Regions from separate parts of the Homo sapiens genome. Here all the other regions are linked to region 2. Evidence: promoter capture Hi-C in 16 types of primary human blood cells and fetal thymus (Javierre and others, 2016). All regions are on one chromosome and are shown on one strand. Each heading gives the region's core, a stretch centred on a gene start or on the middle of the fragment in contact. The rest is flanking DNA. Distances are from core to core; before and after follow the strand shown. Region 1 has its middle 20 kb from the start of MIR378D2. Region 2 holds the start of CIBAR1-DT (CIBAR1 divergent transcript). Region 3 has its middle 25 kb from the start of PDP1.

What was found. Contacts are between HindIII fragments. The CHiCAGO score rates a contact against its expected background, and 5 or more counts as called.
Region 1: a contact is called between a fragment that was not itself captured here and the fragment with the promoter of CIBAR1-DT in region 2, in 1 of 17 cell types (naive CD8 T cells). The highest score is 5.1, in naive CD8 T cells.
Region 3: a contact is called between a fragment that was not itself captured here and the fragment with the promoter of CIBAR1-DT in region 2, in 14 of 17 cell types (total CD4 T cells, naive B cells, naive CD8 T cells and 11 more). The highest score is 8.7, in total CD4 T cells.

What each region holds. Positions count from the first base shown.
Region 1 is chr8:93,894,444-93,898,286 of GRCh38, reverse strand. No RefSeq gene overlaps it. Among named protein-coding and RNA genes, the nearest start is that of MIR378D2, 20 kb to the left of the region's middle. The HindIII fragment of the contact is 8,617 bases long and covers 1-3,843 here.
Region 2 is chr8:93,697,919-93,701,969 of GRCh38, reverse strand. CIBAR1-DT (CIBAR1 divergent transcript) reads left to right here and starts at 1,537. Exons shown (of 11, transcript NR_033858.1): 1 at 1,537-2,034. CIBAR1 (CBY1 interacting BAR domain containing 1) reads right to left here and starts at 1,420. Exons shown (of 9, transcript NM_145269.5): 1 at 1,297-1,420; 2 at 512-746. The coding sequence starts at 1,322. RefSeq lists silencers at 1,072-1,191, 1,382-1,521, 1,552-1,601 and enhancers at 1,168-1,792, 1,822-1,901. The HindIII fragment of the contact is 5,458 bases long and covers 1-4,051 here.
Region 3 is chr8:93,940,274-93,944,273 of GRCh38, reverse strand. It overlaps the pseudogene PSMA2P2. Among named protein-coding and RNA genes, the nearest start is that of PDP1, 25 kb to the right of the region's middle. The HindIII fragment of the contact is 6,976 bases long and covers 1-4,000 here.

The sequences.
Region 1 (3,843 bases), core at 92-2,591, 200 kb before region 2:
ACCAGGTATGTAAACCAGGACAGGGTAGGGTCTTATCTGAGAAACCTCTCACTTGGGAGCAGGAAGCAAAAACCTCAGCAAAATGAAATCTTATCCCAAATTAAATACAGCACTGTTTTTCTTGACTTTCAGAAATTATTTAGACAAACAATTTGTAATTTAATTATAATGTTATTATGAAAGCCTGTTCCATCACTTGCTGCCAACACTAGGTAAAAATACTGGGGATTCTAAATGTGTCATTATTATTCTAGTCTTTCTTTACCATTCCTTAAGCAGTGGGAGTTATGGATATGTCAGCATTTCCATTATTGCCGCCCATTTTCAAGGCCTCTGTCTTAGTCCTTGAAAATTGCATCATACTGGATGGAAGCCTAGAGGTAATTTCCTTTAATGTTATGGCAGCTGCATTCTTTATGGTTGTGTGTGACTTTGCAAGTGATCTCAATATCTTTTTATTTAAAAAATTAATTCATACATAAGTCTCAACTCTTTTTATGTATGTAGCTCTTATTCAAGATTAGGATATGAATGATGCAAAGTTAAATTTTACAAACAGTGCACACTTAAGAAAGGTTGTGTACTTGGGGTACTTGGTGGCAACAGAACAAGGCATGGCCAAGAAGTAATAAGATCCCGGTGTAGATAATCAGTCACATATCTCTGAGATTGTAAACGTAAAAGATAGGAGAAGAGAGGAAAAGTTCTTAAATTATAAATTTAAATTACATGCATTACACTTATTGCAGACATTGGGATTTTCTCATCAAATCATATAATTTCAGAATCTGAAAAGGACCTTAGGTCTTATCTCCTCAATCAATTATGGATGCTTATTCCATCAATTCCTCTTCTGCCCACCCAACAGTGTATCATTTATCTGTTTCTGCCTTACAAACCAATCCAGAATTTAGTGACTTAAAACAATAATTACTGAGCAGCTCATGATTCCAGGTGTTGGCAATTTGAACTGAACTTAGCTAGGTGGTTATTTGGTTGGTACCGCCTGGGCTCACACATGTGGCTGCAGTCAGCTGGCAGGTCAGCCAGAAGCTGATTGATCAGAGATGGCCCCACTCACACATCTGGTAGTTGGCTATGGTGCAAAAGCAACTGGGCCCTGTGTCTGCAGCATCTAGCACCTACCTCAGGCTACTGGCTACTGTCTTCCAAAAGAAGAAAAGAAGGCAGCTCCCATTGTAGAACTGTTTCCAAGACTCTGTTTGTGTCGCATTTGCTAATGGGTCATTGGCCAGAGCAAATCACATGGCCAAGCTCATAAGCAAGGAGTTGAAGATATAAGACTCTCTCTCAGTGGAATGCAGTAATGTAACTTGAAGTCTGCATCCATTTATTTTTATTCAGAAACTAGTGTCCCATCCTGATAGCTTCAGCTGGGATCTCCTCGTAATTCAGTTGTGCCTCAAAAGAAACAGAAGGGGAAGCAGTTATGGGTGGCCTACTTACATGAAGGAACAAAAAGCCTTAGTTCTTGGACTGTCTTGCAACTCTCTTCTCTTTCCTCAGGATGAACTGAGAATTCATCCTGAGGAAAGAGAAGAGAGTTGCAAGACAGTCCAAGAACATTGAGTCAGTGATAAGGGGTGGCTCTATCAGTACAGCCCTAGTCTGTCCCATAGGTGGCCCCAGTCTTGCCCCCATGAGCTGTACCCAAACCTTGAAGAGAAGAGGCTGCAATCGAAAGTACAAAACAGGAGGCCAGGTGCAGTGGCTCACACCTATAATCCCAGCACTTTGGGAGGCCAAGGCAGGCGGATCACAAGGTCAGGAGTTCGAGACCAGCCTGGCCAACATAGTGAAACCCCGTCTCTACTATATATATATATATGCAAAACAGGGTTTCAGTGAAGTTTCTAGGGAAAACATGGGGATTTAGAGGACAAAGGGAACATTCCTCATTCGGGTCTTAGAACTCGGAATGGGCAAAGCAGCTGAGCAGAGGCATGGGCTGAACCAAGCCTACATCTGGACCAGAGATGGCATGGGAGAGGAAATCAGCTCCAGGCAGGCATCCAGACCTTGCGGGCATGCCCAGGAGAAACTCACAGCCTCAGCAGGTCAAGGAGGGAGAGGATTCATTCTCAGACGTGCACAAGACATCGTCTAATGCCTCCCAGAATGAAGTGGAGGAAATTGAGGAACTTCAGTTCTATAGAGCAAACAAGCCTGGGGCCAGAGAATTGTGTTTTGATGACCATGATCTTGACTCTATTTCTAGGTTCTGGCTGTTATCCCTTGAGGAACGGGGATTAGAGTTATTCCCTATAGATAAACCGTACTTTTTTAAGGTTTAAGCCAGGTCTCAAACACCTGGCTCTAGGCAAAACTGTATATTGTGGTTTGGCTTTGACATGTCTTAGCCTCCTACATAGATTCTCTCTTTCTCTTTCTTGTCCGTATATTTTATTTACTGTCACAAAAGACTCTGCTTTCCTTTATTTGACAAGTAAGTCCCCCCAGGTTTAAATTACTTCCCTGACCTGGGAATATTTGCATATTGATAGGAGATTTGTGATGACCTAAACTCCCTCTAGATCTAAAGAAATAAATGCTTAGTAGAAACCTTCTGTTGTGGCCAGGCGCTGTGGCTCACGCCTGTAATCCCAGCACTTTGGGAGGCCGAGGTGGGTGGATCACGAGGTCAGGAGATCAAGACCATCCTGGCTAACACGGTGAAACCCCGTCTCTACTAAAAATACAAAAAAATTAGCCGGGCGTGGTGATGGGCACCTGTAGTCCCAGCTACTCGGGAGGCTGAGGCAGGAGAATGGCGTGAACCCGGGAGGCAGAGCTTGCAGTGAGCCGAGATCATGCCACTGCACTCCAGCCTGGGTGACAGAACGAGACTCCATCTCAAAAAAAAAAAAGAAATCTTCTGTTGTGACTGGTAGGAGAAGGAGGTGAGGGGGGATGCTGAGCAGAGATGCCTTCTGGAGTCCCTCAAATAGCACTGCATGGGTAGCTGTAGTCGCAAGGCTGTCTCTGCCTCCAGAAACCATGAGAACCAAAGGAAGTGTGAACAGGAGGATGTACCAGTTTTGGAGGATGAAAGAAGCTAATGAACTTATATCCAATATAAGTTATGAAGATTTTCAGAAACACAGGATTTCAGTGGAAGAAAATATGGAAGAATTTAATACTAAACATTCATATACCCACCACCTAGATTCTATCACAGCATGTTACTATACTTGCTTTATCACATATTTACCTATCTATTCATCCCTATCCATCCATCAATCCATCTAATTTATTGATACGTTTCAAAATGAGTTGCAGACATCACTTCTCCCTAAATACTTCAGCATACATTGCATTAAAGTTTAGTTTTATTTATAGTTATTGTTAAGTTATGCATAACGATATGTACAAATTTTAAGTGAACATTCTCTTTTTGACAAATCCATACACTTATGTAACTGAGACCCCTATCAAAATAACAATGATCACCCCAAAATGTCTCATGACCTGTCTCAGTCAGTCTCCATTCTAACTACCCCAGAAAGAACCACTGTTCTGGCTGGGCGTGGTGGCTCACGCCTGTAATCCCAGCACTTTGGGAGGCTGAGGCGGGTGGATCACCTGAGGTCAGAAGTTCGAGACCATCCTGGCCAACATGGTGAAACCCCATCTCTACTAAAAATACAAAAACGTTACATGGGCATGATGACACATGCCTGTAGTCCTAGCTACTCAGGAGGCTGAGGCAAGAGAATCACTTGAACCTGGGAGGCGGAGGTTGCAGTGAGCCAAGATTGCACCACTGCACTCCAACCTGGGAGACAGAGTGAGACTCCATCTCAAAAAAAGGAACCACTGTTC
Region 2 (4,051 bases), core at 288-2,787:
GTATTGGTTTGCTTCCATGATACAATTCATAGCATTTTGTTGTTGTTAGTAAACCATTGGTCAATTTTCCAAACCATGGATGCAGCAATGATGTCTTACCCATTTATTAATAATTTATCCATCCACATTACCATTCCCAACATTTCCATCTCCAGTCATTCTTTAAAACGTACTTATGTGCCACACAAGACATTAAGTTATGCTTATTTTCTTCCCCCTGGGTACTATTCCCACTACCCCCAGTAAACAGCCACCCCTTGGCCAAAAGTTGGCAAATAAAGTGGGGAAATTCAAGACCTCAAGATGCCCTAAAGGTTAGCTTGAAAAGGGTAAAATAAAACACAGAACGCTTCTCTTTAATAGACTCACACAGTCTTATGAAAATGTACGTTTTATCAAGTTTGCATCCACCTCTGCAGTTAGGTAGATTACAAGTGAAAGTTTCCACGGTTCCTTCATCCACTACTTCATGGCTCATTCATAACAATGACACTGTGATCTCACTCCATACCTCTGCTTGTCGATAATCCTGAAGTTTGGCAAACTCATCTGCAAAGTTCATCAGGCCCAGCTTTAAATGCGGGGTCTCTGTAGCAGCATACGCGTTAATTTCATTCACCAGGAGGTCTGCTTTGTCTCTCAGCCTGGCAGTTTTCCGCACATAGGCAGCGAAGATTTGGCACAGTTCTCCAAAATGCTTCTCCACATTTGAGACAGCTGTTTGCAGTTGTTTCGTTTGAGCGTTCCTAGGGAAAAGGTGACACAAAAGGCAAAACATTCTCGTTAGAGATGAGAAGGCTTCACGTTAATTTAACATGCAAACATTCCCCGGGCATTCTGCAGCTTTGAAGGCGTAAACCCATCAACGACCCAGCGTCTCCCGGCGCGGACTGCTCTCCATGGGGTCCTGACCTCACTATCCGGACTGTGTAGGCACAGGAAAAGGCCCAGGCCGGGTGGGCCTGGCCTTAACTGGGGAGGTGGCTGCTCCGGCTGCTCCGCGCAGCGCGGCCTGGGCGCCCGGCTGCCTCCTAGGCTTCCGCACTGCCCGCGGCAGTGTGGGGACCCGAGACCCGGTGGCGTGGGTGGGTGGCAGCCGGCCGGGCCCCGGGCTCCTCTTCGCCGCCGGCGGTGGCTGCAGCCCAAGGAATTAGGCCCCAGGTCACAGCGGGGACCGTGCAGCCTCCCACTCAGGGTCGGAATTCGGCGCAGAGGCCCCATGGACAGAGGCTTCCACTTCCCTCACCCCAGCCCTCCAGTGTGGGCGGCCCTGGGCAGCTGGGCTCGGGCTGTTACCGGTTTTCCAGGGTGCGCCTCATCATGCTGCCTCGCGCACGGCCGGGGACCTTGCGGGGGCCCAAGGACGGGGATTCCAAGGCGCCTGGGCGCGCGCTGGGGCGCAAGCAGCCGCCGGGAGCCTGAAAGCCCGCCCCTCGCGCCGCCGCGGCAGGCCGGGCGTTTCTATGGAAACGGGGCGCGCGCCCCCGCGGTCAATGCCCGAGGCAGCCTGAGCGCGGCTGGGGCTCGGAAAGCGCCAAGCAGGCAGGGACCGAGAGGGGTGATGGCGCGCCCACCCCTGCAGAGCCGCCTGCGCGGTTGTCCCGCGCGTCCCTGCCGGCGAAGGCTGTGAGAAGCACCGCGGGGCTACGGCGCCTCCATCCTCTCTAACAGCCGCGCTTACCAGACAGCCAGCCTCCAGCGCTGCTAGGCTACTCCGAGCAGGGGAGAAAAGACGCCGGTCCGCCGGGGACCAGGAGGGAGACGTGAAACCAGAGGCCCGGGGGCCCCCTCTCCGCCTGTGCGACTTGTAGTCTCGTACCAGACGCGTCCGCTTCACTGCTGAATCTGAAAACGTGGGCTCTTGAGAGCTGCCCTTGGAAGGAGCTGTGCTTTCTGCCTCATCTTTAACTTTTCGTTTATTCAGCAAATATGTATCAAGTTCCGACTTCGTGGAAGAGATTGTGTTAGACACTGGGAGTAATAGAAACATAATTAAGAAGCAGGGGTCCCGGACCTGAAGGGCCTGAGCGTCGGGTAAGGAGGCAACGCTTACACCGAACCTGTGCTGAGATAAATAACGAACAGTTCTGGCTCTTAGAGTTGGCCTGGGGGAACAAAAATTCAAAAAGAATAAAACCCCAAACAAACAGGAGGCTCTCCTTTGTCCTTTGAACGCCTCTGTCCCTTTGACCCTCCTGGCCTTGCGTGTGCTGCTTTTCCCAGTAAATACTGCAAGGACTCTATTCAGACTTTGTTTATTTATATATGTATTTTAGATGGAGTCTCGCTCTGTTGCCCAGGCTGGAGTGTAGTGGCACAATCTCGGCTCACTGCAACCTCCGCCTCCTGGGTTCAAGCGATTCTCCTGCCTCAGGCTCTCAAATAGCTGGGATTACAGGCGTGCACCACTATGCTGGCCTGATTTTTTGTATTTTTAGTAGAGACGGGGTTTCGCCATGTTGGCCAGGCTGGTCTTGAACTCTTGGCCTCAAGTGATCCGCCCCCCTTCAGCCTCCCAAAGTGCTGGGATTCCAGGCGTGAGCCACCGGGCCCGGCCTCAATTCAGACTTTATCTGCTTCAAGAAACCTCTCTGGGATCCTCCGTCACTTCACTTTTTCAGGCAGCGTTAGGGCCTTGTCCTAACGCTTTGGGACGGGGTCCTAATACTGTCTGAAGGAGCGAAGTGTTGGAATGCTCAAACAGTACACTTCGTTGATTTTGTACTGCCTCCTGTACCCTAGACTTTGAACCCTTTGAGACAGATTAAATGTGATTTTGGTCTTGTATTCCTCGCTGCCGTGTGCTGCTGATTAAAAGTTTTTATTTTGTACAAATAGATGTCCTCAGTCCTTTGTTTTGAACTTCCCCTATTCGCTTGTGTTACAATGTGTATCTCTCTTTGCTCCTTGCATTCGCTCAGCATGTTATTGGTTGGATGCCTGGTGTGTTCCAGGTATTATGCTTGGCTTTGAGGTTGGCACAGTAACCTAAGGTCAGAATAGTCTGTGCTTTTAGAGAGCTCACAGTTATGTGGCAGTGATAGAAGCTAATCAAAGATGTGTAAAATTGCCACTGAGGTATGTGCTACTGTATCCACTTTTGCAGTGTAACAAATCACCACAAAACTTAGTGACGTTTTACAATCGTTTGGTTAGCTTGGGATTCTGAGTGAGCTGGGTGGTTCTTTTACCTTGGTTCTGCTCAGCTGGGCTCTTACTCACCTTTCTGGTCAGCTGGCGGCTGGATGATCTAAGAGGCCTCACTTCTGTGTCACGGCATTGGCAGGTCGTCAGCAGGGGCCACGTGTTTCTTATTGTCTAGCACCTCAGCCAGGCTTCTTTCCATGGTTTCAGAGTTCCAAAACAGTGGAGCAGGACAAGTCAACTGCACAAGTGCCTTTCAAGTCTCTGCCTATGTTATGTTTGCTGATACACTATTGGCGGATGCAAGCCATGTGGCCTAGACTAGAGGGATCAGAGTGAGAGGGCAGTGGAAATGTTACGGATGGTGTGGTTGGTAGAGGAATTGGTGGCTACTTTTCCAGTCTACTATTAGGGGAAACTACATGGCAGCAATTGAGTGTATACTTAATATAGAGGTTTGGTTTGAACTCATCAGGGAAGGACTTCATTGAGAAAGTGACATTTGAGCTGAGATCCAAAGAATAGGAAGGAGTCAACTAGGTGAAGAGGGAGTGAAAAACAGTCCCAAGAGAAGGACAGTATGAGCAGTTTGTCCCCTTGCCCTCCCCCAGCCCCATTCCCATCTCTACCCAGAATTTCATATCTCAGAAAATGATGCTATTGCCCAGTTGATTGTTCAAGTCAAAAACTTAGGAGTTACCCTTTCTTTTCTCCAGTCACATGGGCAATTCCTATCTGTTCCATCTCCAAAATATATCCTGAATCATTCTTCATTTTTTTCTACATCCCCATAATCCAAACTGCTACCACCAATCATCCTTACTGCAAACCTCCCTTACTAGTCTCCCCATGTCCACTGTTAAACATCGCAGTGTGAAATCAAACATTAAATCAGATGATGTCAACC
Region 3 (4,000 bases), core at 67-2,566, 240 kb before region 2:
ATAAATTACCGTTGGATCCAATTAAATCTGGGCCTATTTGCAGGAGTGGTTTTTGAGGCTAGTCTTTGAGGTTTGTTCCAACCCCAGGAAGGATCTTCTTAGCTTTCTCCCCTACCCCTCCCCTTGTCTCTTTGGTAAATCAGCTGACCTGTGTTAGCTCATAGCTCCCCTGGGGCTACCAGCCTCCTCTTAATTGCTTATCACCTTAACTTCCATTGTTTTCCAGAGAGCCCTCAGGCATCAACTTCCTCACATTTTGCTTAAGATAAAGTCAATTTATTTAAAGATAGCTCAGAGCTCATGCTCTCTCTCTCTCTTATTTATTTATTTAGAGTCAAGGTCTCACTTTGTCACCTAGGATGGGGTGCAGTGGTGTGATTGCAGCTCACTTCAGCCTTGACCTCCTGGGCTCAAGCAATCCTCCCACCTCAGCTCCTCAAGTAGCTGAGACTACAGGCATGCACCACACACCCAGCTATTTTTTTTGTATTTTTTGTAGAGGCAGGGTTTTGCCATGTTGCCCAGGCTGGGCTTGAACTCCTAAGGTCAAGCAATCTGCCTGCTTCAGCCTCCCAAAGTGCTAGGAGTGCTGGCATAAGCCATCGTGCCCAGCCAGAGCTCTCTCTTCTTATGGCCTGCTCTCCCTGGGCAAAACCTCTGTACCATTGCTCCGGAGCTGGGGGTGGGGACAGTGGCACACTTCTTTCAAAATGACACCCTTGTTTTATGAGCAGCATGCTGGACAGGAGCAGTAGCATCTAGTTTTCTTGGCTTGGTTCTTCCAGTGAGCAACATCTGCCCTAAAAGCAAGCCGGGGCAAAAGCAACTGGGGCCTAGTGTTTTCAACCTGTCATGTCTAGGGTAGCAGTAGAGAGCTGAGTGAAGGACAGGAGTCCCCACCTCTTTGGCTGTACTCACTGAGAATTTAGCCTCTGCCACATGGAGAAGGGGATGAGAGAAATGCTGGCAGCCTGAACTCTGGGAGAGACTGGGAGCTGGGTCTCCATATTCTTGGCCACCCAACCTGCAGTGGATCTTCCATCACATGGAGTTTGAGGGTAGCGGGAGGCAGGGAGCAGATCAAGTGTCGCAGACTCTCACTGTCCAAAATTTAGTAGATTTACTTGAATAAATATTTATTCATTTGCTGTATGTTCTCTGGACAATCTCCAGTGACTCTAAGTGTTGGGGTTTTTCTCCTAATAATTTTCACCAATTACTGATGTTTCACTGGGAAGCAGGTCCGAGAAACTTCTCACACTGCCATTCTGGAATTGGATCTCCAGTACTTGTGTTTGGTATTTTGCACAGAGGCACGGAGGGAAAACACAGTTAAAGTCAGGTTGGGAGCCAGAGAAGAAAAGTGAGGGGATGTGCTTTGGCTCTCCAGGTAAAGATGGCAGAGCACAGGTACAGCTTCTTGCTGACTACACTCAGCCCATCTGGTACACTTGTCCACACTGAATATGCTTTAGCTGCTGTAGTGGGAGGAGCCCCTTCAGTGGGAATTACAGCTGCAAATGGTGTGGTATTAGCACTGAGAAGACACAGAAATCCATTCTGTATGATGAGCAAAGTGCACACAAAGTAGAACCCATTACCAAGCGTAGCGGTTTGGTGCACGGTGGTGCGGATCCAGATCAGAGTGCTTGTGCATGGAATTCAAAAACAGCTCAGCAATACTGTAATATCTCCGTACCAATGATAACGACAGGAAGCAGCCAAATGCCTAGGCAGATAGGGGCGGGTCCCCAGTGAAACCCCACCTTTAAACCAAAAACAGCCTAAAGGTTGACAGACCAGACTGCTGGTCCCAGATGAAACCCACAACTCAGAGTGAAAACTTCTGTTCTTGTTTGCCTGCCCTTTCCCAATCGATTCTTTCTGAATAATGCCTTTTAACCAATCAAATGTTGCCTTTTCCAATACTACCTATGGCCTGCCCCACCCCTATTCTGAACTCATAAAGGCATTGGACCTGGCCATGTGGGGAGGAGAGAACCGCCCGACTGCAGGGCTGGGGGCCACCCGCCGTGTCTCCTCTCCACTGAGAGCTGTTCAGTTGCTCAATATAATTATTCTCCCCTCTCCTTGGGCACAGTACAAGAGCTCAGGAACCGCCAAACGCAGGTACAAACTATAACACAGGTGAGCTGGGGCATGCCAGCATGGTCGAGCAAGGACCGGGTGGGGCATCACCAACTGGGGGTCCCTGGCTTGCAAACTGACTGAAAAGAAAAATCCTACATCATTTTGGGGAATAACCCAGGATACCTGAAGGGTGAGTAAATGCGGACGTAGACACTTCACTTTTTTCCGAGGCTTCTTGTCCTCAGACTCTTTTCTGAAGGCAGATGAAGCACCAAACCTCTGGTGAGCCAATTAAGAGCAATGGCGCAACTAAGAGGACAGGATGCTGGAAAGGACCTCGACATCCCCACCTCCATCATCTCTGGGGTTGGGAATGTCAGCCTCATTCCAATCCAGTTTTTCCTATAGCATTTTCCTTCTTTTTTTTTCACAGATGTCATGGCATTATCTCCCTTACAATGTTAAGGGTGTTGTTGCAAACTACAGAAATATTACTAGGTGGAAAGAGCATTTGGCCCAGCCATCAGATATGCAATTCAGAACAATGCAGTTTCTGTCTATTCTTAGAGGCAAAAAGGAAGCACAGATTAAGAATTTCTCTCCCTTTTGGAGGAACCCAATTGCATAGATCAAGAGGCTTTTTCCCCCAGGCACCTTCCCCACCCTGCACTTAAGCTGTTTTTTTCTTTTCTCCACCATGTCAGGAGTTAACACAGTCCTGCAAATACAGGGAGCTTTTTCTATGCTAGAGGATTTTTTTCCTTTTGAAAGGCATCTTACTAGGCCAGGACCCCAATTCTCCCTTTCACTCCCTTGTTTGAGGAAGACCCGGTTCCACGCGTTACCTTAGCATTGGGTTTATGATAAGGAAGCAGTGAAGGAGCAGCCCCACTGGCTGCTGGCTGCAGTCTGGTGAGGGCCACATAGGACTTAATTTAATGCATCCATGAACCCTCCTAAGGCACCTTCTTGCCCCAAACTCAATTTGGAGCTTCAGGTTGAATTCCTAGAAAGGAAAACTACATCGGAGTGATCCAAAGGCAGGTGATAACAGAAGTCAAGGGGCACAGCGCAGGTGAGCATGACTAATTCCTGCTGGTTAGCTCCCCCCACCCATTTCATGGATAAAGGTCATGCTAGCATCCATGGAATAGATGAGGTTACCAAGAGGAGGGAGGACAGGACAACGTGTAAGTGAATGCGATAATTCCTACCCACTAGGCATCCCTGTTAACATGGGTAAAAGCTGCATTGGCACCAATGGGTGGCACCCTGCTGAGGGCGCCAGGACCTGGGGATACAAACCCCAGTAAAATCTCACCTTCAAGCCAAAAACAGCCTGAAGGCTGAAAGACCAGACTGCTGGCCCTGGATTAAACCTGAGACTGAGTGAGAACTTTTGTTCCTGTTTGCCTGCCCTTCCCAATTGATTATTTCTGAATAATGCCTTTTAACCAATTGAATGTTCCCTTTTCCAATACTACCTACAGTGTGCCCCACTCCTATTCTGAGCCCATAAAAAGCCCTGGACCCAGCCACGCAGGGAGGAGAGAACCACCTAACTGTGAGGTGGTGGACCACCCCGCGCATCCCCTCTCCAATGGGAGCTGTTCCATCACTCAATAAAATTCTTTTCCACCCTCCTCACCCTTCAATATCCAGCATATCCTCATTCTTCTTGGGCGCAGTACAAGACCTCGAGAACTGCTGAACACAGGTACAAGCTATAACACACGCAAGCTGGGGCACGCCATTGTGGCCGAGTGAGGGCTGGGAGGGGTGTCACAAGCTGAGGATCCCCTGGCCTGCAAAGTGACCAAGAAGAAAAATCCTACATCACCAAGAACCCATTTCCATAGCTTGGCTGGTACGGAAAGTAGTTTCTGTAACCCAAGAATACACTCACTCA